Linked DNA regions of Homo sapiens: regions 1, 2, 3, 4, 5 and 6 are each linked to region 7. The links are contacts of gene promoters, found by promoter capture Hi-C in human tissues and cell types (Jung and others, 2019). All regions are on one chromosome and are shown on one strand. Each heading gives the region's core, a stretch centred on a gene start or on the middle of the fragment in contact. The rest is flanking DNA. Distances are from core to core; before and after follow the strand shown.

What was found. Contacts are between HindIII fragments. The study calls those that stand out against the background at their distance.
Region 1: a contact is called between a fragment that was not itself captured here and the fragment with the promoter of DMRT3 in region 7, in 2 of the 25 tissues and cell types used here (lymphoblastoid cells and mesendoderm cells).
Region 2: a contact is called between a fragment that was not itself captured here and the fragment with the promoter of DMRT3 in region 7, in 3 of the 25 tissues and cell types used here (H1 embryonic stem cells, dorsolateral prefrontal cortex and mesenchymal stem cells).
Region 3: a fragment that was not itself captured here is called in contact with the fragment with the promoter of DMRT3 in region 7 in 6 of the 25 tissues and cell types used here (IMR-90 fibroblasts, adrenal gland, aorta and 3 more).
Region 4: a contact is called between the fragment with the promoter of DOCK8 here and the fragment with the promoter of DMRT3 in region 7, in 5 of the 25 tissues and cell types used here (heart left ventricle, heart right ventricle, mesendoderm cells and 2 more).
Region 5: a contact is called between a fragment that was not itself captured here and the fragment with the promoter of DMRT3 in region 7, in 4 of the 25 tissues and cell types used here (IMR-90 fibroblasts, aorta, dorsolateral prefrontal cortex and 1 more).
Region 6: a fragment that was not itself captured here is called in contact with the fragment with the promoter of DMRT3 in region 7 in 2 of the 25 tissues and cell types used here (hippocampus and lymphoblastoid cells).

Annotation. Positions count from the first base shown.
Region 1 is chr9:375,950-379,978 of GRCh38, reverse strand. DOCK8 (dedicator of cytokinesis 8) reads right to left here. Exons shown (of 48, transcript NM_203447.4): 19 at 3,674-3,769; 20 at 2,768-3,002; 21 at 44-208. Among named protein-coding and RNA genes, the nearest start is that of DOCK8-AS2, 92 kb to the left of the region's middle. The HindIII fragment of the contact is 6,287 bases long and covers 1-4,029 here.
Region 2 is chr9:1,580,250-1,584,471 of GRCh38, reverse strand. No RefSeq gene overlaps it. Among named protein-coding and RNA genes, the nearest start is that of SMARCA2, 430 kb to the left of the region's middle. The HindIII fragment of the contact is 5,889 bases long and covers 1-4,222 here.
Region 3 is chr9:261,171-265,030 of GRCh38, reverse strand. The region is part of intron 1 of DOCK8 (dedicator of cytokinesis 8); the gene reads right to left. Among named protein-coding and RNA genes, the nearest start is that of DOCK8-AS1, 47 kb to the right of the region's middle. The HindIII fragment of the contact is 9,940 bases long and covers 1-3,860 here.
Region 4 is chr9:212,491-216,114 of GRCh38, reverse strand. It overlaps DOCK8 (dedicator of cytokinesis 8), which reads right to left and starts at 1,250. Exons shown (of 48, transcript NM_203447.4): 1 at 1,086-1,250. The coding sequence starts at 1,138. It overlaps DOCK8-AS1 (DOCK8 antisense RNA 1), which reads left to right and starts at 365. Exons shown (of 1, transcript NR_160804.1): 1 at 365-2,658. RefSeq lists silencers at 776-915, 1,086-1,135, 1,186-1,235, 1,246-1,495. The HindIII fragment of the contact is 11,669 bases long and covers 1-3,624 here.
Region 5 is chr9:326,331-330,111 of GRCh38, reverse strand. DOCK8 (dedicator of cytokinesis 8) reads right to left here. Exons shown (of 48, transcript NM_203447.4): 9 at 1,941-2,090. Among named protein-coding and RNA genes, the nearest start is that of DOCK8-AS1, 110 kb to the right of the region's middle. The HindIII fragment of the contact is 5,602 bases long and covers 1-3,781 here.
Region 6 is chr9:1,604,878-1,608,872 of GRCh38, reverse strand. No RefSeq gene overlaps it. Among named protein-coding and RNA genes, the nearest start is that of SMARCA2, 410 kb to the left of the region's middle. The HindIII fragment of the contact is 3,037 bases long and covers 654-3,690 here.
Region 7 is chr9:974,490-978,293 of GRCh38, reverse strand. It overlaps DMRT3 (doublesex and mab-3 related transcription factor 3), which reads right to left and starts at 1,639. Exons shown (of 2, transcript NM_021240.4): 1 at 839-1,639. The coding sequence starts at 1,292. RefSeq lists enhancers at 1,472-1,971, 1,972-2,473, 3,006-3,804. The HindIII fragment of the contact is 20,406 bases long and covers 1-3,804 here.

The sequences.
Region 1 (4,029 bases), core at 1,013-3,512, 600 kb after region 7:
TGTTGCCCCGCCCACCAGAGTCCCACACTCAGGGCAACTCTACCTGACTTGGGCACATCCCTTTGCACCTCTGGCAGGCGGAAGACGTAGTGCACGTAGGAAGCCAGCAGGCAGTTCCTCCCATGCTGGTCCTTGCTCAGGTCCTTGCTGTTGTGCAGACTGTTGGCGATGGCCACCACGGACTCGAAGGCAAACTGGGAGAAGTTGGCTGAGGAACCAAGAGAAAAATGGGTAGTCCCACAGCTGGTCCTTAAGGAGCCTGAGGTGGAAGTTTCTCCAGGACAGTGACAATGAGTCCTGACCGCTGACCAATTTAACTAGGCCTGGGAAGGGTAGATGGTTTTGGTGAGCTCTGGCATGCTGGCTCTGAGTACCACAGATGCCTCCACATTCCCTCTTTTGAACTTCCTCCTCCTGCCACTGAATAGCATTGATGGTTTTTAATGACAAAGACATAAGACTGTCCAGACGTCCTCCTTCTCTAAGCCAGGTTGTAAACTGATGCTACTCAGTGGGGGCTGCGGACACACACGACCACTATCACCTGCTTGCTACTAAGAAATGCAGAATCTCAGGCCCCACCCCAGAGAGTGTATTAATCAGGTTCTGCATCTTTACAAGATGCTCACGTGACTGTTGTGGACACTATGATTTGAGATGTGCTGCACAACCCTGATTCTTGTACAGATTAACCTAAAAATGTCTGCATATCAAGTCATTCCCACAGTGGGCCCATACACATTTGATTTACTGCATAGAACCTCTTGTTCTGGTGCCCTAAGCCTCTATAGTTTGGCTCCAATATACTTATCTAACCTTGTACCCTTTTTGGCTCAGTTCGACATCCCTTAAAATGAGGCAGTCATTGTATTGTCCCATCATGCCTGCTCTCTTACCTCTGAGACTTTGCTCATGCTGTTGTCCTCGCCTAGGAAGCCCTCCTCACTCCCATCCACAAAATCATACCGACCCTGTGAATCTCAGCACAAGTCCCACCTCCTCCATGAAGCCGTCTGACTCCACACAGTACAGGGCTCAAGTGAAACTGAGTTACATGATTCTCCAGCCATGTCTGGTGGTAAACTGTCTGTCTGTGAAAGCTGGAATCCTTCCCATGCGAAGTGCATTTCTCACATCTTTTGTGCCCCCACTGTGCTTTCCATTGCAGAGACACAGAATAGGTTCTGAATAAATGCTTGTAGACTAGCCACCTCCACTTATTCTGCCTATGCCAACACCCTGTGGTCCTCACACCACAAGGTGGCAACTTGCTATGGAGAAGCTGCTCAAAACATATAAATATTTTTGTCTGGTGAACAAGTCTGTATTAACTAGCTGGAACATACAAAGCAGTGTGCCACATATGCGGGGGCACAGAAAGTAATCGAAGGAGGGCAGAGCTCTGCAAGAATCTAGCTGGAGAGGCAACTGCTACATGGATGAAAAGTTAGCCTCCAACACAGGACGTTTGATCTGTGGAACCACAGAAGATGCATATCAGGGTGCAAAGCAGAGTGAGAGATTAAGGGGACATGCCCCTCCCTGGCTCTAAAAGCCGTCTCACTTCATTGTCCCAGCCCACTTCCACACGTGCTTCTGTTCCACCACCAACTGTGCTACTGACTTTCTTCCTGACACTCCCACACTTTTCTGGTTCTCTGCAGTGCTGCACTCATCTCATTGCCCCTATTCTGTCGGTTTTCACTCTATCCCTTCTTCAAGGCCATCTCTTTATGTGGACCTCCTGCATCCTCCCAGATGGATGTTTTCTCACTCTCTCCTTTGATACCACCCTCCCCACAACCACTGCAAAATTTAGCTGTGTCCCTTTGAGGAGTCTTGTCCTGTGCTGCTGACTCTTTGCCATATTATAAGTCCTCTGAGGTCTGAGATGCTCTTGGTTATTGTCACAAAGCCTACAACTTTTAGTACAGTACTGGGCATATGGATGGTACCCAAAAGACGTCTGCTGGACTGGAAAGCAAAGAGCTATATAGGCACAGCTGAAAATGGTGGCAAATAAAGATGCCCTATACCAGCCAGTCTACCCTGGAAGAGTTAGGAGAACCACTGGACTCTGGTCATGCCTCCAGGATAAGCTTTTGAGATTATTTCTAAGGGAAAATGTACACATTGTATTTAGTGTTAACTTGTTAAAAGTAAGCATTTAAAATAGACTGTAAGAGAGAACGGATGAGTTCTAGGGGGAGGGATGAATAGGGAGTGATGGGGTTTTATTTGGAGGTGATGAAAATGTTATAAAACTAGATTGTAGCGATCATTGCACAACCTTGTGACTATACTAAAAACCAATGAACTATACACTTTAAAATAGTGAGTTTATGTTTTAACTTTAAAAATTGATTGCATTGCATTTCAATGTAGAGAGTTCCTTCCCTCCATTTAACACAGGTTGTCTTACCTTAAAATGTTCCATTTCCTGTTAGTCAAGAAAACAAAAATATCTTCAAGGTAAAATAAATTCATCAATTACCAGAAATGGAATTTTAAAGACTGCCTATAATCATTTAATAAAGTTTACAAAAAGCTATAATATTAAGAACCCTATTTTAATGTTTCTTTTTCTTTCCAACATGCAGAGAGTCTCAAAAAAAAAATAGCATAAGACTTGGCCTCCCTTGAGCACACATCATCAGTGGAAAGGAAGATCACATTGTCTCTGGATTTCTGGAAAGTCATTTTTCATTAAAGAAGGCAATGCTTGCTTGCTCCTGCCTCCTCCCAGCCCAGCCCTGCAGGTTCATACCTGTCTGGCCAGCGATGACCATGGGCTGCACGGACAGCTGGAAGAGCTTGTCCAGCACCAGGTGCAGGAAGAGCACGAGCGGCTCCAGGCGGGAGGAGTTCAGGCAGATGATGCTGAGCTTCAGCTCATGCTCCAGCGCCATCTCGCTGATTTTCTGATCCAGCACGCGGATGGGGAAGGTCACCTGGCTCTCCAGGGAGTGGCAGAGGGTGAAGAACTTCTCCAGGTGGTTGTCCTGCGAAGGGAGAAGGCAGGCCTCATGGGGTTTTATACCATCAATGTTCACCAGTGGATTCACAAACACAATCGAATAGCTCTTTATGGGTAGAACCTCTTATCCAGCGTTTCAGACCAGAAGGTCTAAGACATGATGTTTCAGACCGAGGCTATGAACTTCTTTGTAGAATGTGGTGCATGAAGTTGAACGTTTCAATAATTATTAGCTAAAGAAGAAATAATTTTGGCTCTGACATGTTCTGTAAGCAGAGGTCAGCGTACCAGGTAAGCATACTGCCAAGAGAGAGGTCTCAGCAGATGCAGAACTCAGACAGTGGCAGGTAAAGGAGAGAGTACGGAATTTCTTTTTAAAAGCTGGCAAAGTGGCAGAGTTACAGAGGGAAAAGAAGTAACAGCAGATGAGAGTTTCAAATCAAGTCCCCCTGCAAAGTTTCTCCACCAACAGTGCAGATACTAGGTTCTTTCCTTTAGGTGCTCGGCGGTTTTGTAAGGTCTTTCTATTCCAATGACAAATGAAACCTAAAGAGGTTTGCATGTCCCCACAAAGAACTAAAGGGTTATTTTTTATTTATCTGTAGACAAGGATTTTCACTGATCTTTTATTGGCCTGTCCTTCAAAGGCTCCTCCGCTGCACCTTTACCTTCATGATTAACCTTGACATTCCTTACCTGGGTGTGTACAGAAGAAACAGCTTGCACTTCAATATTAAATACTCCCTTATGTCCTTCAGCCCACTTAATGGGAGGATTCTGTAATGGGACTTTCTGTGTTAAAGAGAAAAAAAAAAGATTAGCAATCCAATTCCCTTTTCTGATTACTAACAAGCAATGCAGACCAACTTGACTGGAAATGTCAGGGTTATACAAATACAGAACTCTCTTGAAAACTAATCTAACTGTTCTTGGAGTCAGGAGCCCTGGATTCAACTTCAATTCTACACCAAACTAGTTAATATTTATGTATTTATTCATTCCTTTTGAGACAGGGTCCCACTCTGTCGCCAGGCTGAAGTGCAGTGGTGCAA
Region 2 (4,222 bases), core at 805-3,304, 610 kb before region 7:
AACCAAAATTGACAAATGGGATCCAATTAAACTAAAGAGCTTCTGCACAGCAAAAGAAACTACCATCAGAGTGAACAGGCAACCTACAGAATGGGAGAACATTTTTACAATCTACCCATCTGACAAAGGCTAATATCCAGAATCTACAAAGAACTTAAACAAATCTACAAGACAAAATCAAACAACACCATCAAAAAGTGGGCAAAGGATATGAACAGACACTTCTCAAAAGAAGACATTTATGCAGCCAACAGACACATGAAAAAATGCTCATCATCACTGGACATCAGAGAAATGCAAATCAAAACCACAATGAGATACCATCTCACACCAGTTAGAATGGCGATCATTAAAAAGTCAGGAAACAACAGGTGCTGGAGAGGATGTGGAGAAATAGGAACACTTTTACACTGTTGGTGGGGCAGTAAACTAGTTCAACCATTGTGGAAGTCAGTGTGGCGATTCCTCAGGGATCTAGAACTAGAAATACCATTTGACCCAGCCATCCCATTACTGGGCATAAACCCAAAGGATTATAAATCATGCTTCTGTAAAGCCACATGCACATGAATGTTTATTGCGGCACTATTCGCAATAGCAAAGACTTGGAACCAACCCAAATGTCCATCAATGATAGACTGGATTAAGAAAATGGCACATATACACCATGGAATACTATGCAGCCATAAAAAAGGATGAGTTCATGTCCTTTGTAGGGACATGGATGAAGCTGGAAACCATCATTCTCAGCAAACTATTGCAAGGACAGAAAACCAAACACCACATATTCTCACTCATAGGTGGGAATTGAACAATAAGAACACTTGGACACAGGACAGGGAACATCACACACCAGGGCCTGTCGTGGGGTGGGTGGAGGGATAGCATTAGGAGATATACCTAAAGTAAATGAGGAGTTAATGGGTGTAGCACACCAACATGGCACATGTATACATATGTAACAAACCTGCACGTTGTACACATGTACCCTAGAACTTAGAGTATAATTTAAAAAAAAAGAAAGAAAAATGACATTCTCAGTAAAAACATTAAGTTTTGTGATGTTTCAACTTACCCTATCCCCATCTTCCTCTTCCCATCTGTGGTAGCCTTGAAAACCAATAGCCTTGTAATTATCTTGAAACCAGTAGTCTAGCAGCCACTGGAGAATGTATTTGGGGTTGGAATTCCTACAAAGCTCCATTCTCACCTGTCATTATTTGGCCTGTCTGGCATTTCCTTGGAAAATCCTACTCCCAATACTTGTCTGTATGTGACCTGTGTTAGAGCTCTTTCAGTATAAACACAGTTTTGCCCAGGGATATTTGTTGAAATAATTAGTGGCAATTGCTTCAGGTTGTGAAAGGACGTGTTGACCAAAACACTTTTTAAAAAGCTTGTCGGATCCATCTATTAAAGCATAGGAAAGATCTGACATTTTCCTACGAATCTAGAAGGGCCCTCACATGCAGAGACATGTTCTTGCATAGGGCTACGTACATACTCAAGAAAGACCCAAGAAGGCCCTAAATTCTCCACAAGTAAGAAGTAAAAGCTGTATATGTGCCACATTTTCCTTATACTATGCAGCCATAAAAAAGAATGAGTTCATGTCCTTTGTGGCGACACGGATGAAGCGAGAAACCATCATTCTCAGCAAACTAACACAGGAACAGAAAACCAAACACTGCATGTTCTCACTCACAAGTGGGAGTTGAACGATGAGAACATATGGGCACAGGGGAGGGGAACACCACACACTGGGGCCTATTGGGGATCAAGAGGAGGGATAGCATTAGGAGAAATTCCTAATGTAGATGGCGGGTTAAGAGGTGCAGCAAACCACCAAGGCACATGTAAACGTATGTAACAAATCTACATGTTCTGCACGTGTCCCAGAACTTGAGTATAATTTTTTAAAAAAAAAGGGGGGGGAAGAAAACATTTTAAATAGTATATACAAGCAACATTTGCTATGACTGTCCTAGGTTATCTCTGGACAATGCTTGTGATAATGTCAGCCCTATGACAACTAACCAGCTCTCAAGAAACTATCACTCTGTTCCTTGCCCCTGCATGGGCTGATACTGGCCCTAAATAGTGTACATGTAGAATTTCTTGCTTTCAGCCCCTCTCATTTGGTCCTGATAATCCTGTCTTCCTTCTACAGCAGAACTTCAAAATAAGAACTATTATCTTCATATACTGCTTGAGGAAGTTTAAATCATTCTCTCAATATAAACCATTTCACCCATTTGCTGGTTCAGTGAAGTGATTTTTTTCTTTTGTCAAATTTTATCTTTAACATCTGTTGAGATTTTGGCACAAACTTACTTCTAATGGTAAACTTGGGCCCAGAGAAATTGCAGTGAGAAAATACAGCACTTCCCCAAACAGCCCACTAACATCATGATTTCCCAATTGTCTGACATTAATAAATGACATTCTGCTGTCACTTTCTAAATAACATAAAGCTCAATAAACATTTATGTATGGTTTTCATTACAATGATCATATATTATTAATATTATGACATAGACTATATGCTCTTGAAGTATATCAGAAGTTTATATTTTCAGCACTCAGTTTCCCTGTCACTGGCTGAAAACATTAAATCACCCTATTGTTTTTAAAAAGAACTATTGTTTAGGAGACACTAAGCTTAGTGAGGGGTAGCACTATGTTTTATTCATTGCTCTATTCCAAGTGCCTGATATAGTATATGATACACAGAAAAACCCTTTGATAGATCAAATAAATTAATCTACTACAGCTATTCTATTTTAGTTTGCTAGAGTCCAGTAATATCAATTCATTTCCAGTAAGAATAATGAAAATGGAAAGTGGTTACTTAATGCTATTCTGTGCACAGAATTGTGCTGAGGTTACATATGTGTCTCATGACATCCTCTTTAGTAATGCATGTTTAATATTGTCATTTGACAGGTGAGGAAACTGAGGCTTGGACCAGTTTTGGAGTTTTCCTAAATTCATAAAGCTAATAAATAATGCTACCAGTATTAAACCCAACTTTCATTAAGTCCTAGGCTCTTGACAACGGACCCTACTTCTATCCCTAAGACTTTGCTCAATCAGGCCTTTCAGTCCCCGAAGTCCATATGGAAGTAGAGCTATTCTTTTATGGACCATTAGTTTGATCTTATCACTAGAACACTGACTTCCTGTTAGATTCTGATGCTGGTATATCTCTGGGTTTATTCTTCTTATTTTAGGGACACTAAGCTCCTTGCTGAATTTCTAAGAACTGAATAAAGCATATTCTTGAGAATTTCTAGTCTCTTATGCCTTGATTATTTTATCTCTTTTTTCCTTACCTTAAATTTAGGGTATTTTACAGAAATAGTGTATTATTTTTCTATTGTTGCTCTACCAAATAAACAAATTTTGTGGCTTAAATTGACATAAATTTATTATTTTACAATTCTGTAAAAGTCCTACATTACCCAAATAATTAGTTTTGGCCCACCAAAGTAATCAAAGATAATCTAACTTAATCGTATCTCCAAAATCCCTTTTGACATTTAAAGTAACTGTATTCACAAGTTCCAAGAATTAGGTTATGACATCTTTGCAGGAAACATTATTTTGCTTATTACAGATAGTTAACCTGTCCTCTATATTCCATAGAGGATTTCTTAATTGAAAATTCCTTTTAATCATTATAAGACTATTCCACCCAATTCAATTCAGCTTATTTCTTCATCTTATTAATCTTTCATTGTCCAAGGGGCAGCACAATAGATATAGAAAAGCCAAAATATAAGAAGTATATGTTGTTGCTCAGGACCTCAAGGTATTTACTAACTTCTGGGATAGATGTGATGTAGAATTAACTAAATGAAAAAGAGTGCTGAGTTGTGTCTAGAATTAAATATGCAATATAAGGTTTTTATCCATTTGATAACTTCAAGAGATATGATTTTAAAATCACTCTGGCTTATGGAATATAGCAAAATGCTAAGAAGGTATAGAAAAGTTAATATTTTTTATTTTCACTTTCAATTTGGTTATGAGATGTGCTTTAGAGGGAGGAACTGAATCTCCAAAAGTAATAAATAACTTACCAAAGGCCATGCAGAAAATGAATTGAAGAGCTTGTATTTAAATCCAGTTGTGCCTGACTCCAAAGTAAATGTTCTTTTCATTTATGCCTCTAGACATAACTAAATAGTTAACTCAAAAAAAGATTATTATTTTTTAC
Region 3 (3,860 bases), core at 692-3,191, 710 kb after region 7:
GAACCTGGGAGGTGGAGGTTGCAGTGAGCTGAGATCACGCCATTGCACTCCAGCCTGGGGGACAAGAGCGAGACTTTGTCTCAAAATAAATAAATAAATAAAAATCAAGGTTTAAAAATTTGTTGCATGTAGAAAAACTGACTTTGAATGATGCAGCTATCAAAGGGTTAGATCATTGTGCATGGCATGGATAAGCTCTGAAAACACACATCTATCTCAAGAGTGAGTAGTTCCTGGAGTTGACCACATAAAAGAAATCTAAGGCTTTTTCTGAGATGCATTCTTGGATGCTTTTAGTAAAGTGCACTTTTAAAAGTGTACAAAATGAATTTCTGTAGCAAACTTTATGTATCTATATATCTACACATATATCTATAGATCTCTATCCATAACTGTATCTCCATACACTCATATACATATATGCATACATATTTTCAGCCATAAAGTCTAGAATAAATTCCTTGTAAGTTCTTCAGCCTGTGGCCTCACAATGGATTATTTCAGGTTTTATCGTTTCTCATATTCTCTATCTCTTCTCATAAACAGACAAGCCATAACTGTACAACTTCCATAAAACGGATTCAACAGGTGGAAACATGACTACAAAGAAAAGTTTGCCCCTTATTTGGAAGGCATGGAACTTATGTTTCTTCCTCACAGGGGTGTCCCAAATCCCTTTCACTGAGAAAATTCCTCTGAAGACAGTAGAATGTTTATTAGATGACTTAAGTGTTTGAGGGTTCCAGCAGCAAGACTAGAGAAGGATTTCTCACTGTCTTCAGAGACATCTCCTCTCCCCAGCTTTTATATGTCATCATATAAGTTTCCTTCTTGATATAATCACCATCTGCTGATGAAGCAGCATAATCACCTAAAAGAACACCTGTAACCATTTAGTGTCTTGTGTTTAAAGAAAAGAGAGTCTTTCCAGAAAAGTGTGTTGAGTCATAAAGTAACAGATGTAACCTGTGTAAGCTGGATCCCAAAGGAGGAGGAGAGATGAAACTGGAGCAGAAGTAATATTTAAAGAAATACTGGCTGGCAAAAATACCAGACGCAGCTTCATAAAGTTCTATAAATGCCCATCAGAATCAATACAGAGGAAATCAAACCTAGACACATCATAGTAGAACTACTGAAAGTCAAAGAGAAAAATCTTTAAAACATCCAGGGAAAAGACACATTATCTTCAAAGTGTAATAATGCAACCAACAAAATTAACTTCTCAATTGAAAAAGTGAAATCCACAAACCAATGCAATGACATCTTCAAAGTGCTGAAATAAAATAACTAACAATCTAGAATTTTCTACCTAGTGAAAATATTCTTCATAAGTAATGAAGGAAAAATATTTTACCAGATAAACAAAAATGGAGAGAATTTATCACCAGCAGAGCCATACTAAAATAAATAGTAAGGAGAGTTTTTGAGGCAGAAGAAAAGCAATCCCAAAGGGAAACACAGAAGTGCTGAAAGCATTGAAATACACCAAAAGGGTAAACATAAGTAAATCTAAATGATAGTGACTGTGCAATATAAATATAATAATGATAATAATGTGAAGTTTAAAATATACATAGAATTAAAACATCAATGATACACAAAAGGTTTGAGGGGTAAACGGATTTCATGTGTTTTAAAGCCCATATTATATCATCTGGGAAATGGTAAAAGTACTAATTAATACTAGGATTCTAATAAGTCAAACATGTATTGTTGTAATGACTATAGCAACAAGAAACAAGTGGGCAAAATGGAAAAAAAAACCTACAGTAGGATTGAACATTTATACCCAAATATATCAGGTTTTTTTTTTTTCCTTTTGAGATGGAATCTCCCTCTGTCACCCAGGTTGAAGTGCAGTGGTGCAATCCCAGCTCACTGCAACCTCTGCCTCCCCAGTTTAAGCGATTCTCCAGCCTCAGCCTCCTGAGTAGCTGAGACTACAGGCACCTGCCACCACGCCCGGCTCATTTTTGTATTCTTAGTAAAGACGGGGTTTCACCACGTTGGCTAGGCTGGTCTTCAACTCCTGACCTCAGGTGATCCACCCGCCTCGGCCTCCCAAAGTGCTGGGATTACAGGCGGGAGCCACCGTGCCCTGCCTATATCAGTTATTAAATGTAAACAGATTAAATTCTCTAATTAAAAGACAAAGGTCATCAGACTACATTTTAAAAAATTGTTACTTATAAGAAGCACATTTTACTTTTAAAAACAGATTGAGTATAATTAGCTGGCAATGAACTGCACATATTTAAAGTATACAATTAGATAAGCTTTGACATACGTATAGACCCATGAGACCATTACTACAATAAAAAAGTTTCTTCATGCCCCTTCTTAATTTTTACCCTCCGTCTCCTGGTAACTACTAATTTGCTTTCTGTCACTGTAGATCCTTTGCATTTTCGAGAATTTTACATAAATAGAATCATACAATATATCTCTTTTTTTGGTCTGGCTTCTTCCATTCAACAGAATCATTTTGCAATCCATCTATATTGCACTGTGTATTAGTAGTTTACTCCCTTTTATTATAGAGGAGTATTCCTTTGTATGGATATAACATGGTTTTTTTTAAATCCATTCATCTGTCTATGGACATTTGAGTTGTTTTCAGTTTTTACCTATTACAAATAAAGTTGCTGTAAACATTTGTGTTCAAATCTTTATATGGATACATTCTTTCATTCCTCTTGGGTAAATGACCAGTTAAAGTGTTTTACAACATGGTTGTATACTCCCATAATCAGTGTTCCAGTTTTTCCATATGTTCAACAATACTTGGTGTTGTTAGTATTTTTCATTTTAGCCATTATACTAGACATGTTGTATGTGGTGGTATCTCATTGTGTTTTTAATTTGCATTTCCCTAATGACTAATGATGCTAAGAAAGTTTTCATGAAGAGACACTTTATTTATTTATATTTAACTTTTATTTTAGGTTTAGGGTTACATATACATGTTTGTAACATAGGTAAATCGCGGTGTCTTTCTTTCTTTCTTTCTTTCTTTCTTTCTTTCTTTCTCCTTCTTTCTTTTGACACATTTTAAATATAAGGACATAAAAAGACTGACAGTGAAAGAATTTAAAAAGTTATGAAACCTAGCCAAAAGAAAGCTGAGGTAGCTATAGTACTATCAGACAAAATGGACTTTAAGAAGCATTACCGAAGAGAGAGACATTTCCTAAATAATCAAAGGGCAATCCACCAGGAAGACACAACAATTCTAAATATGTATGTACCAAGTAATATAGGCTCAAAATATATAAAGCAAGAACTGCAAAAGTAGAGGAAAAATATTACATCCACAACTACAATAAAAGTTTCAAACATACTTCTGTTCTATCATGCAGATTAAAAAAACCCAGAGATACACAGAGCTTGAACATGATAAACAGACTTGTGCTAATTGACATATACAGAAAACACTATGCCTAACTTCAGAGTACACATTCTTCTTGCACACATTAAACATTTACATATTGACCATATCCCCGACCATAAAACAAATCTTAACAAATTGCAAAGGTCCAGAAATCATATAGAGTAGCTAGTCTGATGCCATGTAGAACTAAACTAGAAACCAACAAAAACATACTAGCTCTAAAACATCTAAATATTTGTTTTTGCAAATAACATAATTTTAAGCATATCTTTCTTTCCATTTATGTGCCTGGGCTAAGTAAGTGGATTTTAAAAAATTATATAAAAACCAAAAAGAAAATAGCCAGAGAAGAAAACTACATGTAATATTTAGACATAGTTATATAAGCTATTCTATTTTTATTTTGAGCATGTAAGATATTTTGCAATTTTAAATATAAAAAGTATAAAAAAGCATATTGTACAAT
Region 4 (3,624 bases), core at 1-2,500, 760 kb after region 7:
GGAAATAAAATCGTCAATAAAGCTCGATATGCCCTCTAGAAGACCTTATCGCCTTGTTTTTCTAGGCTTTTAATTCCTTGTTCAAACCTCTTCACACACTAACAGCACAAAGATGAACCTACGGTGGAATCCACCTTTCACAGGCTCAGCTAAGTGAAGATTAACAAATCGGACAGCCCTGTGGGCAATAGAATAAGTTGACACTTTAGAATGAGTTTCCTATTATCTTTTAACTAGACAGTCTAGCTTTCTCAGGGCAAGACAAAAATGTCCCAATTACTTGTCAGCAGTTTTTAGTGGAGGAAAAACTGCAGTTAAAGCACCTTTACTGAGAACTTTGAGCAGTAAATGTGCTTACATATTTAGTTTGTGCAACTTTGATTAGGAATTGGATGGTGAGTTGGGATCCCCCAGTCCTTAGCTTTTTGCTGGAGTTCTGTAAATCTCAAAATGTCAGCCACAGGCCATTTCTTTTGGTTTATTTAAGTGTAGATTTTTTAAAAAATCACTTTTTCCACTTCATGGCTCCTTTGGACCAGGGTATAAAAATAGCGATGCCACCAGGAGCCAAGCTCTTTCTGGAATAATGAAGCAGGCGAGGACGGAGCCTTGCTCAGGACGACAGAAGGCTTGCAGCCTGCCTCAAACGCAACTCTAATTTCAGCCACTTCACTTCTTCCCCCCGCGCTCAGACTTGCCTCAAAGGAAGGAGCCGTTTATGAGACACTCCGTGGCGCGCCCAACACGGTTACCCAGGCGCCTATCACCCTTCTGGGACCCGGCCACCTGTAAGAACCTGGAGGGCGGAGCGGGCGAGGTTGTTCGGGGAAGGGATCCCCGGCGGCTGAGGACATCCAGGAGCACCGAGATTCTTGGGGAGGACCTCGCCGGGCCCAGCGCAGGAGCCGCCGCGCGTCCAGCGGCTCCACCGCCGCAGCCTCGGGAACCGGGCGCCCCAGGTCTCAGGCGCGCCCCGCCGCGGACGCGAATGGACTCGTCCGGCCTCGGCCCCTGCAGCGAAGCTCCGCTTCACACCAGCGCTGGGCTGTCCGGCCGCAACCTGCGCGCCGCGGGGGGCGTCTTACCTGTTGATCTTGAGCGCGAACGCGCGGCGCTCTGCGCTCGGCAGAGTGGCCATGGCCCGCCGGCGGTTCGGTGGCTTCTAGGGTCGCGGGGTGCGGAAAGCGGGGGCCTGGCGCGCCGCAGAGTAGCCGCGGAACATGCCCAGCCAAGCGCAAACCTCGTCTGTCGGTCGGCGCTGGAAACTTCCGCATTTCCACCTTCTAAGCCGAAATCACCCCGGGGGAGGGTCCGAGCTCGGAGCAGCGACGGCCGGCTCCGCCACCCGGCCTGGCGCGCAGGCAGCGGCGGGCGAGGAGGGCGTGGGCCCAGCGCGGAACTGGCCTCCCGATACTGGGGCAGACGGCGCGCTCTGCCCGGGGCCGCCGACCTCCGGCCGAAGGGAGCGCGGGCGGACGACAGGCGACCACTGCGCGCAGGCCGGAAGCTCCATCTGCCCGAAGCTGCGAGGCTGCCAGGGAATGTAGGCAAGTCGGGGGAGCCCCACAAAGCTGGCGAGGTCGGGAATCACCCCAGGGATTCGTAAGGCTAGGTGTTATTAAGGGTTGACACCATTCTCGAAGAAGGCAGCCAAAAAAAAAGACAAAAAAGTTAGTGGAATCTATCAGGATTCAAATCAACTTTTGCAAGCAATATGCCCATCATCCTTCCTGAGACACTAAATAAATATAATGGATTCATCCAAGGAATAAACATTATGAGTTCTCAAAAAATGTTTTCGTCACAACCTGGCGTGAATGCTTTTCTCCGGAGAAACACTGAAGGCGGCGTTCTTGCGATTCAAGGGTACGCTGCGTCCAGGTTTATTTCAGTTTCAGACTGAGGTCTGCTAAGAAGCCCGGCCTCAAACTCAAGATAAAAACAGAAAAGTCCCAGTGTTGACGGGAGTGGAGGAGCCCGTGTTCGCTTCAAGGTGCCGGCGTGCTGCTCTAACCTGTGCTATATATACTCGAGCACTCTCCATATAATGCCTCCATTTACCAACTTGCTCTTAAAAAATACCAAAGCAGGCCGGGCGCGGTGGCTCACGCCTGTGATCCCAGCACTTTGGGAGGCCGAGGCGGGCGCATCACGAGGTCAGGAGATCGAGACCATCCTGGCCAACGTGGTGAAACCCCGTCTCTACTAAAATACAAAAAATTAGCCGGGCGTGGTGGCGCACGCCTTAGTCCCAGCTACTTGGGAGGCTGAGGCAGGGGAATCACTTGAACCCGGGAGGCGGAGCTTGCAGTGAACCGAGATCTGCCACTGCACTCCAGCCTGGCGACAGAGCAAGTCTCCGTCTAAAAGAAAAAAAAAAAAACAACCAAAGCGAAGTATTTTTGGTTCAAACCTGCACTATTTAATATGATAGCCACTAGCCACATGTGGCTATTGACCACTCGGCATTATGGTTAGTCTGAATTGCCCACTGCTGGATGTGTAAAATGTACACTGGAATTTAAAGACAGCGCAGAAAACATCGTGTAAAATGTCTTGTTAATGATTTTCATGTTGATTGCATGTTAAATGATACTTTGGATATAAAAAATATATTATTAAAGTTAATTTCACCTGTTTGTTTTCCCCTTTTAAAAATGTGGTTTGCATTTTTAAAAATGTAAAATTACACATGTGGCTCACATTTGTGAGCCTCATTATATTCCTATTGGACAGTGCCAGTCCAATACAACCTAATTTGTCACCTAATACTAAAATCCACCTAAGGACTATATTCAGTCTCTTCCTGATACAGCCTTCCTTCCTGGTTTCAGCTGTGTCAGGTAGTTTAGTAACTTTTCAGTACTGGTTAGGTAACTCCCCGCCCCCCAATGCCCACCAAATATCAGTGCCCTTTTAAGCATATAAGACAAAGTTCACTGCATAGACTACAATAGACTACATACGAAAACAAACCCAAAGAAAAATAAAGCTTTTTTGAAATTTAGAGTTTCTGACTTTCAAAACTGTCCTTATTTACTACATTGGAATTTATGAGCAAACATTTGGATAGCAAAATACAAAGAGAACAAATGTGTAAGTACTTCTTCAAACTGAGACTCAACGAATGATACATAGAAAACATTTTGCCCCAGAGGCTTCGGTCCACGGTGTACCATGTCAGCCTTTCGGATGAACTCCTCTGAATTTCTGAATGTTTATGACATACATTTTCATATAGAACAAAAATATACTGGTTTCACACAAACATAAATAAAATGTAATGAAAGCATCTCAGATTTTCAGCATTTGCAATCAAGGAAACTTTTTGGGTGAATGTGGGAATCATAAAACCTTCCATCTTGCCTCAGATCATACTGCAATAGATTTAGTATTTGGTACCTAACCATGAAGGTTAGGCCAGCATTATTATCCTCTGTGCTGTCAATTTCTTGATGGTTAGAATTGTCTCCAGATTTCCTTAACACTCTTTTAACAATTCACCATGAATGTGTTATCCATTAATTTAGTCAAATGCCTGTTTTCAAGTTTGATCTGCTGTTAGATACATTCACATATTGCTGGCAAATAGCCATCCAAGTGCCTTTCTTCCTTATTCTCACT
Region 5 (3,781 bases), core at 11-2,510, 650 kb after region 7:
AAATACAGTAAAGACCCTGATGTTCGGCCTGGGAATATAAACAAAAAAGAAAGAAGCCCCTCTTACCAAATAATGTCTGCCTGGATGTGCTAAATAGTTTAACACCATTTACTATATATTTAAAGGGAAAGAAGCAACAATGATGGCATTACGATAAAGAAAAGCAAACAGAAAGCCAACCAGGGGCTGTCTTGCTGAGTAGATTTCAATTTCTTAAACCTATCCAAACACTTTAGTATGTTTGTTATGCCAAATGAACACATTTATACATTTGAAAATTTTGGAACATATTTAGTAAGTGATAGGAACCAATGGGTAACCACTGTTACTTGGCAGAATATGACGGATTAATCAAGAGAAAGTCATCCACTGGGAAGTAGAGTTTGAGATAAAATTTGGCTCTATAGAACTAGTGTTGGCTTCTTCAGTTTCCTAGGCTGACAGAGAATTGTGAACTTACCTACAGGGCTATCATAGTGGGCTTTAATTTTCCTGTATGTCTAAGTAATATTGCAACGAAAAGGAGACACATTGAAGTTTGACAACAATAGAAGTGTCTTTTCAGCAATATAATTTTAACTATACTTCTATAAGCTTAAATAAGTTCCCCTCAAGCTACAGTAACCTCTCATAATCTTTGTTATATGGTGTTAAAGAAGCTAGAGTGAAAAGACATTTGCCATCTGTTAAGTGACCTCAAAGCTACCTGAATTATTTGGAATCCATGAGATCATGGGGCGATCACTGAGACTACAGACATAAAACACTGTACTAACTAGATAATGTTCCAAACCTAAGAGGCTGGGGGCACATGAAATCAGACACCTGAATTTGTTGTTTTGTTTTTACAATGATTTTACGGCCGGGCACAGTGGCTCACGCCTGTAATCCCAACACTTTGGGAACCAAATACAGGTGAATCACCTGAGATCAGGAGTTTGAGATCAGCCTGGCCAACATGGTGAAATCCTGTCCCTACTAAAAATACAAAAATTAGCCTGGTTTGGGGTGGTGGGCTCCTATAATCCCAGCTACTCGGGAGGCTGAGGCAGGAGAATCGTTTGAACCCGGGAGGTGGAGGTTGCAGTGAGCCGACATGGTGACACTGCACTCCAGCCTGGGTGACAAGAGCAAAACTCCTCTCAAAAAAAAAAAAAAAAAAAAAAAAAAGAATCAATAAGACCAATTATCTGGCCTAAGGTAGGTAAAATACCTGATGTTTGTTAATTTCTAACCAGTCATTTTGGTGTACAGAGAAAGGATCTGGTTTTCTTACAACAGCAAAGAGTATAGCCTAGAATGAAAGGCTCTTCTACTTACAATTGCCCCATAGATTTCAACTCTCATTAGAGACAGTCTGTGACATGGTAAGAAGAAAAAAAAAAAAGGAGGATGAAACTTGAAAACCACAGCCCACGCTTCAGCTTGTAAGAGGCTGGACTTGGGAACACGTAACTATGCATCTCTAGAGCAACATGAACATCGTTAGGAAACTCTAGCCCAGAGATTTTGTTCCTTTCTCCACAGCAGCTTCTTTGCACCAGGTCACTGAGGGAACTCTCCTTAATTAGGAGAAGGGTGCCCAAGATGTGCCAAGCTTTATTCTGTAGTCATGACTATCCACTGAGGTCAGTGTGATTATCTCCACTTCACAGATGAGGAAACTCAGTCTCAGAAAGACCAGGAAACTGCCAATGCCATTTAATTACTAGGTTGTAAAGCCAGGACTCAAACCTAGGTCTGTGTGTCTCCAAAACCTAGTCTTTCTAGTATCTGAAACAGTTTACTTAGAACGGAAAAGGGGTAAACTGAGAAGGAAACAAAGTGAATCTCAGAGGATATGTGGACACATTCTGAGATTGCGTGCACCCCAAACATGTGCTGGGAACAACACAGCAATGAAAACATCAGATTGGGCAAATCAGATCGTACTGAATTACCTTGACTACCAGGTAGATGTCTGAGGACGGGTAGGTGACTGAGAAGACTGCAGATCTCGCCTGACTTGATGCGGCCACTGAAGGCGTGTGAGCTCGCAGAAATCCTTTGAACTGGTCAGAGTTCAGGTCACAGTGAAAATTTTCTGAGATCTGTAAATGAGCAGCAAAGTGAAATATAAGTTAGACCTGTTGCATTCATGGTTTAAACATGTTAAAAAGGAGTAAAAACACCACAGAGAAATTTTGCTGAAGGAGTAAGTGTAATAATCACAGATGTGGTTTAGGAAAGTGGCTCCTGGATAAATCTGACAAATGTTTTGTCACAATGTCTAGGTATTCTGGAGCCATTTGAGAGATGTTCCTTGAAACATTTAAATGTTTATTAACCCACCGGTATTTCCTGAGTATCAGTTACTTCACTACAGAAGAGGAGGACCTCTGCTCTCAATTAATTCACAATCAAGAATGAGGGAAGGACTGGGTGTGGTGGTTCACACTCGTAATCCCAGCACTTTGGGAGGCCAAGGCGGGCACATTGCTTGAGCTCACGAGTTTGAAACCAGCCTGGGCAACATGGTGAAACCCTGCCTCTACAAAAAATACAAAAACTAGCCAGCATGGTGGCATGTGCCTGTGGTTCCAGCGACTTGGGACGCTGAGGTGGGAGGATGGATCACTTGAACCCGGGAGGCAGAGGGTGCAGTAAGCCAAGATCGCCCCACTGCATGCCAGCCTGGGCAACAGAGTGAGACCCTGACTCAAAAAAAAAAAAAAAAAAAGGTGAGGGAAAAGGTAAACATGTAACTAACTACAGTAAAAGCAAAATACAAGTCACCACATGCATACAAAGAAGCACTGTGGAAGTTCCAGAGTGACAGGCCATTTGCAGTTGGGTGACAAGGACAACTTTTCATGGAAGCAGCACTGGAGATGGATGGGCCTTAGAAGATTCTGATAGGCAGGGGTGGAAGGTGATGATGTGCCAGGGAGAGATTAGAGTATGAATAAATATCTCAGAGGCTTGAACGGCTGGGGGAAGCTTAGTCAGCGGTCTAGCTTGACTCTGCATAGACTATGGATGGAAAGAAGGTAGAGGAATGCCATCATGAAGAAAGCCTGGTTGTAGGGAATGAATCTTAGTGAAGATTCTGAGCAAGAGCATGATGTGAACAGTGCTCCTGGCTCTCTTAGTGTCGTATTACTTAAGAGCCACTGTATGGTTGGGTTCTCTCCTTCATCACCATGAGAATTTTAGTGGTGAGTGGCTGCCCAGGCAGAGACTACATTTACCAGCCTCCTTTGCAATGAGGGGTGATCATGTGACTCAATTCTCTCCAGTGAATTGTTAGCAGAAGCAATGTATCAAACTTCCAGGCCTCCTCCATCCTTCTTTTCTCTTCTTCAGGGGCAGCAATGGCAGTGACAAGAGTAATTTGGGGAGAGAACATACTGAAGATGGAGGAGCCACTGCCAGCCTGTATTTCTGAGTGGCTGCGTGGAACAGAGGGGTCCCTCCTCCCACCCTGGATGGTTAAAGAAACAAAGACAGCAACTTCTTGCTTATAGGCCAGCGGTTTTCAAAATGTGGTCCCCTGACCAGTAGCTTCAGCATCAGCAGGGGACTGTTAGAAATGCAAATTCTCAGGCCCCACCTGGACTTGCTGAATCAGAAACTCTGTGGGTGAGGTCCAGCAATCTGTGTTTTAACAAGTCCTCCAGGAGATTGTGATGCATGCTCAAGTTTGAGAACTACTGCTTTAAACCACTGAGATTGGGTTCTGCTTGTTTTAGCAGTTAACCTATCCTACAAATCTCAGTGATTATTAATATTTATGCAGGAG
Region 6 (3,995 bases), core at 923-3,422, 630 kb before region 7:
TGTAACACTTAAGTTGCAGAATTAAACCAAACACACGACTGACACAGAGTGGGTAAACCCTGTGTGTTAATTTCCCTGCTCATCCTGTACAAAATCTTGTTCAGTCCTGGTCAGCCCCCAAGAATGGACTGGTTTACCATTTCCTCCCACTCCTTTTAGCTTAAATGGGTACCCTTCATTCTTAGAAAACATCCACAAACTTTGGCCCAGAAAGGCCTTCTTGGTCCATGACGCATGATCATCTTCTCACCCTCCACCTTCCTTTTGAGGATTTGGAAAGGCTTTCTCCCGGGGGAAAAAAAATAAGCAAAGAAGAACCTGGTTGTGTTTTTCACACTGCCTGTTTGAGGCTTTCAAAGAGCATGAAATGCAATTAACACCAATGTGAAATCCACAGTTGTTCATTATGAGATTATTCAGTGCTATTGTTACCTGACCTATAAGCAGCTGTTGTCAAGTAATGTAAATTGTCACTGGGATCTAGAATTATTATATACAAGTGAAATAAATCTGCCTCTTGGACTGGCATGGTAAAGAATGTTTCCCTCCCCTTTCTCAATCCTCACCATAGCCAGTCATGTTTTGCCATGGTCACACGTCTCACTTTTCTTTATGCGATTCACTTCTTTTAGTTTTTTTCCCCAGGGTTCTGCTTTATTAGACATTTTTACTCCTGTGACCCAGGCTTTTTGGCCATTGAAGACATAGTAAAGAGGTTAATCTGAGCTGAAATAGATCAGATCTGTTACACTCATTCTGATTTATCTGACTCCTTTGCTGGTTCACCAGCTTGAAATCTTTGGCCCTGATTCAGGCCATGTCTCTGGTAGAAAGGACTTTTTTTTTTTTTTTTAATTTTAAAGGTTGCTCTGTTTTCATTACAGATATGGCTGAATCTGAAAGTGTCACAAACTAAAATGCATATATTAAATTTGATAGATATTCCCCCCTTCCAGGGCCATAAAAATGGAAAGAAAAGCAATTTAAGGAGTTTTTTCAACCTTCTGGGACACGCACTGGAAAATATATTAGGTTTGTTGGACTTATTTTTGTTTTTGGGTGCTGGAGACCTGAAGGCAGCAGTTGTTTTTTGCATATGCTGATATTATTCCGACCATGATAAATACAGACGTGCTGCCTTCCGGACACAGAGAGGCACTGGTATTCTGCACTGCAGGCCTGGACTCTCTGGACTCTCCCCAGTGTAAGGATATCGGAGCTGCTTTGCAAAGGGAGGGCTCTGGAACCAAAGAATACCAAGAGTTGGTAGAAATCCTGCCCTGAAGGCAAAGAAGGAAGAAGACAAAAAGGGGACCCAACCTGGAAAATCCCTTGCTCCTGGTAGAAGACTGTCATCCTTCTCAGGTTTTCAGGCTTGTCCACGATTTTTGAGGTCATTTTGGACTGCTTATCATAAACAAGCTGATTTGAAGATAATTCCACTTGGGTCTTGGTGGGAATTAAGTACACAAGTATAATGAGTCTAATACATTCGAAGAGAGTTTTTCTGATAAGATGATGAAATCTTTGCCACTGATGAGTTTGGTTGTGAATTGCAAGCAGGAATAATGCTGGATAATTTAAATTTGAATTATATTGATTACAGCATGATTGGTATCCTCGGTTATATGCAACACAGCAGCTGCTCCTAGGAGATAAGGATTTAGTTACCTTACAGGAGCATATGAAGAGAACACTCTTGGCCAGAGCAATCTGGTGCAGCTCAGCACCAGATTCTTGAGTCTCAGTCACATAACCTTATCTCCAAAGAATTTCACTCTCAGTAAGAGACAAACATCCCAACATTGTTGGAGCCAGAATCCCAAGACCCATGGAGACATAACAGGGTATTAACTCCCATGTTTCCTTCCAGGGCTTGTGTCTTTGGGTAAATGGGTGTCAGCAATACCTTTATGATCTTAAATATCCATTTTCCATAAACCAATACCTTATCCCAGCTAGGGCTGCAGAAGCTGGGTCTCAGGGTTGAATGGAGAGGAGAATTATGGCTCCATCTTTCCTCACAGAAGAAACCTTGAAAAAGACGTAGGAAGCATCAACACCTCAGTTTACCTTATAAGCTTTCCTTATTTTCCAGAGGTTGAGAGATCTAAGAGACTGTCAGTCACAAAGGTCCTACTAAATCAATGTTCCACACTTGTAGCTCTGCTGTGTCAAAAGTCCTGGCTGTTCCCAGGAGAAAAAAAAAAAAAAAAGCATGCCCAATGTTACTCACACATACAATTGTTTTGAATCCACTTGTCTGCCTAACTTCAAAGAAAGTCTTTGTTGACAAATTAGTCCTCAGTAGTTTTTCACTTGGCCTATAAAGTGATTCTAGCTGTGGAGACACTGAAAAGGTGGCGTCAGGGCATTCTCCACACATCTTTCATCTCCATCGAGAGTGGATACTCGAGCTTCCTGTTTTAGAGTCTGAGACATAATTGCTGGGGGGAAGTGACGGATGGATTGCACACTGGCTCTGAGGAAGCTGCACATGCATCAATGTCTCATGAAGCTTTTTGGTTTTTGGGGTTTTTTTTGAAAAGATAAAACTAGGAGGAACAGTTGTTTGTGTAGTTTTATTTTCAAAATGCTCCTAACGTTGAATAAAAAGATAAGGCCTTTAAAAATACCACCATGACAATTCTGAAAGTTATAGGGTAAGCCACATTCTCCCATTTGGTTGTGAGTAACAGTCTTAAGCACCACAGACCTGCTTCTCTGCTGTTTTTTTTATTAATTCTCTTTTATGATTCCTATAGGTAACACAAGGCAACTGAATCGCCAAAGCCTTGTGTGAGCATTTATAAACTTATAAATGGATAGTTTCCAAAGGTCACTTATAAGTTGATATATTTTAGAAGTTAGAGCCTGTTCCACAGAGAAATAAGAATATAAATTATGTTTATGGCTTCTCAAAATCTCCTTAACACATAATGTGTTTATGAGATTCTATGCTTGCTTTCAACAAAATAGATAATAACAACAAAAATAATACAATAACATTTTCTACTCTGCATATTATTTATTGATGAAAACACGCTTTAATTAGAGGAAGATGTGGAAGCAAGTGGAAACTTTAGTGGAGATAAGAATAATTGGACACTTTCTAAGGCTTCAGTATATAATGGCAATTGGCAAATTTCAAAGCTTGTGGTGTTATTTATTTAATCAGATGTGTTAACCAGTCATGTTTATCAGACCATGTCAGGTTCTTCTTTTTCCTTTTTTAATCTCAATTACAAAAAGAAGAAAAAGAAAATGAAAAGAAAGGAAAAACAAAAAAAAATCTTTTTTCTTGATGTCTTAGGTAAATGCTAGACAAGACATGGTACAAATATGCAGTTACATAAGAAGCTGTGGGTCCATATGAAAAAAAATGGTCTAAAGTGTGAAATGAGCTGACCTGTGGTCAGCAAAAGTGTTGAAAATCATGGCATACAACCTTTACATACGTTCCTTAGAAGAACGACCATTATGGTAAAGCAGAGATTCTCAAAGTGTGGCTCCAAGACTAGCGGCATTGCTTTCCTAAATTTCCTGGGAACATGTTAGAAATGCATATTACTGAGCCCCATCCTAGATCTACTGAATCAGAAACTCTAGGAGTGGTGTCCAGCAATTTGTGTTTTAACTAGCGCTCTTGAAGATCCTGCAGGCTGCAGATTGAGAAGCACTAAAGAAACAGCATTAGAGAGTTTCCTGTAACAACCACTAGGTGCCTCTGTTGCTCAGGACAGACTAGTTTAATGAGGGAAGTTAGGGGTTCATAGCACAGAATTAATGCCTCTCTTAAGCAGTTATGTGGATGAGGATGACTTATCTGTTGCCTCAATTTTTTTAAAGTAGTCAGTAAGAAACTAGAAATAAATACACAATCCTAACTGGCCAACAAAATTTACAGGACGTTTCCAAGTTTGTTTTTTATGACTAGAATTTGTTTGCAAAAATGGGAATTTTTATTAACCTGCAGAAAACATAAAATATGTGTT
Region 7 (3,804 bases), core at 390-2,889:
CAGGCCTGCCAAGCTCAGGAGGCCTGGATGGAAACGGATGGGTGGTGGGGGATCAGATTTTTTGTATTCCTTTAAACCACGAAGACAGCTGAGGGCAGCCTGGGGAACAGTGTTAAAGGATCTAGGAGGTTCTGCAAAGGAGTGAATTCTGGGCGCATCAGATTCTTTTCCCGCTATCAGCTCACAAGCCTTTCCGGACCCTTTTACTATCATTGCTAAATGGAACTTATTTCACCAGTTACAAGAGTCTGGAGGCCACGGAGCAAAGCTAGAAAGGCCAGGGTTCTGAGAGTTGGATACTTGTCCTCACTCAAATTTTCCTGGGCCCTGGGCAGGGCCGGGCCGGCCGAGAAGCACAGCCAGCTCGACTCAGCCGAGTGTTGGCCTTGGCTCCTTCCCTACACCTACCTACCCATTCCAACCCCCAAATGGCAAGGACCTCTAAAGCCTGCAGCCAGGAAAATCCGACCCCACCGTAGTGAGTGTGCGCACGTGGGTTTTAATTTTGTCCTGTCTCAACTCCGTTGTCTCCCTGCTCAATCTGACACGTTCCGAACCCTTCAACCTGGGAAGGCACCTGGCGATACTGACGCACAGTCCCGTCGTTTGGCTGCCCGGAGGCGCCTTCCCTGCGGGCGCGAGTGCCACTCGCGCTGGGTCCAGACTCAGCCGGCTTCTCCCGGGAGAGGAAGCCCCGGCCTGGCGGAGAGTAGGAAGGAAAGCCCCGACAGGCCCACGTCCCAAAACTTTGCCTCCAGTCCTCCCAAGTGGAGCTGCAGCTGGCACTCCGAAGTTGCCCCCGCGCCCGGCCAAACTCCCGCACCTCAGACGCTCTTACCTGGCTTGGCGAGCTGCGCCTGCAGAGCCCCGGGCTGCGGCTCGGCAGTCCAACGCAGCGCGGCGGCCGCGGCCAACTCGGCAGCAGGGCGCGGCGGCTGCGGCTGCGACGGCTGAGAGGCTGGCGGCGGCTGCGGGGCGGCGACGGCGTCCCCCGGCGGCGGGGGCCCTGGCAGAGCGCGCAGCGAGTCGGGGATGAGGCTCTCCAAGCTCTCGTTGGCCTGCTGCCGGCGCAGCGCCACCTGCGCAGCCATGACCCGCTGCCGCTCGATGATGAGGATGCACTTCTCGCAGGTGCAGTCCTTGAAGCGGCAGTAACGCTTGTGGCCCTTGAGCCAGGACAGGACGCCATGGTTGCGGCAGCGCGCGCACTTGGGCGTGCGCTGCAGGGGCGCCCGTGGCGGCTGCGACACCGGGCCGCCCATGTACAGGTAGGGGGAGCCGTAGCCGTTCATGCCCCGGGCTCCCGAATGAGTTGGCAGCCTGGCTGCGGGAGAGGGCCAGGGAGCGCTGGACGGCGGGGCTGCGAGGCCCGCTCAGGGGCGGCCTCCGGGCGACGCGGCCCTTGGTCCCGCAGCCCCGGTGGTCGTGTGTGCTCCGGGGCGGCCGGAGGTGCCGCAGTCGTCTCTCCAGCTCCCTTCGCGCTCACAGCTCGGCCTCCCAGCTCACGCCCAGCCAACGCCGACGCGGGCCTCTGCCTTGGGCGCGCAGCCGGGTCGGCACGTCCTCCTTCGCGGAGGCGCTGCGGCGGCTGCAAGGAGCCGGCGACAGCTCTGATTAAGGTCTGAGCCAGCTCTTCTGCAGCTCCCTCGTGAGCCGGCCGGACCCAACACCTCCGCCGCCCTCCCCCAACCCCTCCTCCTTCCCACCGCCACCCCCGCCCCTGGGGTCCCTGTCTCCTTGCACTCCCCGCCCCACGCCTTCCTCCTCCTTTGCGCCCCTCGGGTGCCTGCACTTCACCTTCCTTGCCACCTGCAGCCAGGCCACTCTCGCGGGGGCGCTCGCGGCCCCCTCCTCCAAGCCCTCTCCGCTACCCCAGCCCGCGGCTGGAGACTGCGGCGCTCCAGAACGCGGCGGTGCTCGCGGGGCGGAGAAGGGGAGGACCAGCGGGAGTGAGGGTGGGGGTGCCTGTAAGCGAGTGAGGTGGCCGCTCCGCTTCTCTCTCTTCTCCTCCCTCCAGTCCAGATCTGGCCGCGTTTTTCCGAGCCCAAGGCCGCTTTTATCCCGACATTTGGCCGCAGAAGCTCAGCTCCGGGAGAACTCGAACCTACGGGAGTGTTGCGGTTGCACCCCGGACCTGGGTGGAGTTTAGGATAGGGGAGTGAAGTGATGTTGGTTTAGGAAAGTTAGGCTCTTTTCGTAATTTCCTTTTAGAACGTATTTTTTTCTCTTTTGTTGCTTTAGAAGAAAATGGTTTTGGAGATCTGCCGGCCCAAGGATGACAAGCCATTTTGCAGGCGAATTTTACTTTTCTACCCTCCTGTCCATGTTTTAATATAAAACAGTATCCTGAAAGGTCAGGGACGTACGTGCTCCTGTAAAGGATTTGTTAAGCGCCGGGTATAAACTTTCAAGGGGCAGACACAGAAGCCACATTGGCGCCCCCAAAGTTACCGATATCCTCTTCCCTCGCTCCCAGCAGCTACTGGAAGCAAACGGAGGTCTTGCGCCAGCCACTCAGTTCAAATCCCCACGGATTCTGTGATTCAGTTATGGATATGGGATGGGGCCACTTTTTCACCTCCTTAACCCATAGACCCCAGTCATAGATGTCTTGGGGGAGAGGGTCCTTCACAAGATGACAGCAGAAAACTTTGTTTAGATTATTTGCGTGTTCCCATTCTCCCAGGAGTAGCGGGCTTGGCCTAGTGCAGACTATCGCTATATATGCACAAAGAAGGCCCTCCACCCTCGCACCTCCCCACTGCCCATCAGCAAACAAGCAAAAACCAAAAAACAAACAAACAAACAAAACAAGTGGATACACTGCAGGGCAGCACAATAGCTCTATGCGAAGCGGGGCAGTTCCAGAGCCTTCGGTGGATGCGCTTCTGAGAGCGTGCACCAAGCCCATCTCCTGGTGGGGAATCAAATGCTAGATGAGAGCGTAGGCAAGTCCGCTGCAATGTCCGACCCCTCATGGGCACAGAGGCCCTTGTCCCCTCGGGGAGGCCGCTTTTCTCTGTACTGCCCTGGAAGTAAGCAAGCAACCTGAAAACTTTCCTCTGGTGTTTGCCATGAATTCAAGGGAAGCACCTCCAGGCGTTCTAGCAGCCAACCCTCTGCCCAGAAGGCTGATTTGCGGAGAGGAGGGTTGAAAACCGAACCCCAGTTGTGTGTTTCCCTTGAAGCCCTTAGCTGTTCCCGTTTCATACGCGTCCGGGAGGTGGGGATCGCGGGACACTGACCTGGTAGAGTGTGGACAAGAAGCTCTAGCATTCGAGTGCTAACCCTGGGAGGCCATCCTCCAAAGCCGCGTGGGGTAGGGACCCCTCGGTCTTGCCCCTTCCCCCACCACTTTAATCCTTCCTCTAGTCTCAACCTTCTCTAGGAAAACAAGCCCTAAAATACAACTGGAAGGAATTTTGTAAGCTCTGGGGACGGGAGGCAGAGGTCGCCCCCAGCCCTGTAGGCCCGAGGCTAGGAAATGGGGAGCTGGACGCGAGTCATTTAACGTGCTGCGATATAGAGGGCCTCAAATGACACCTTAACTGAAAACTATTGCGCTGAAACCTCCGGATCTCTTGGAAACGTGGGGACCAACGACTTTTTTCAAAACCAAATTTCTTCCGATTTTCTTCAAACAGTGAAACGAGGAAGTATAAAGAACTTGAGTATGAATAAATTTTTAAAAGGAAAGCAGAAGAGCTCTGCACCAGGTTTGTGGGGGCACTTTCACTACCAAGGCGACCCCTTTTCCCCCGTCGGTCACCTAGCCACCCTATCTCGTTGCCACTCAAACAGTCT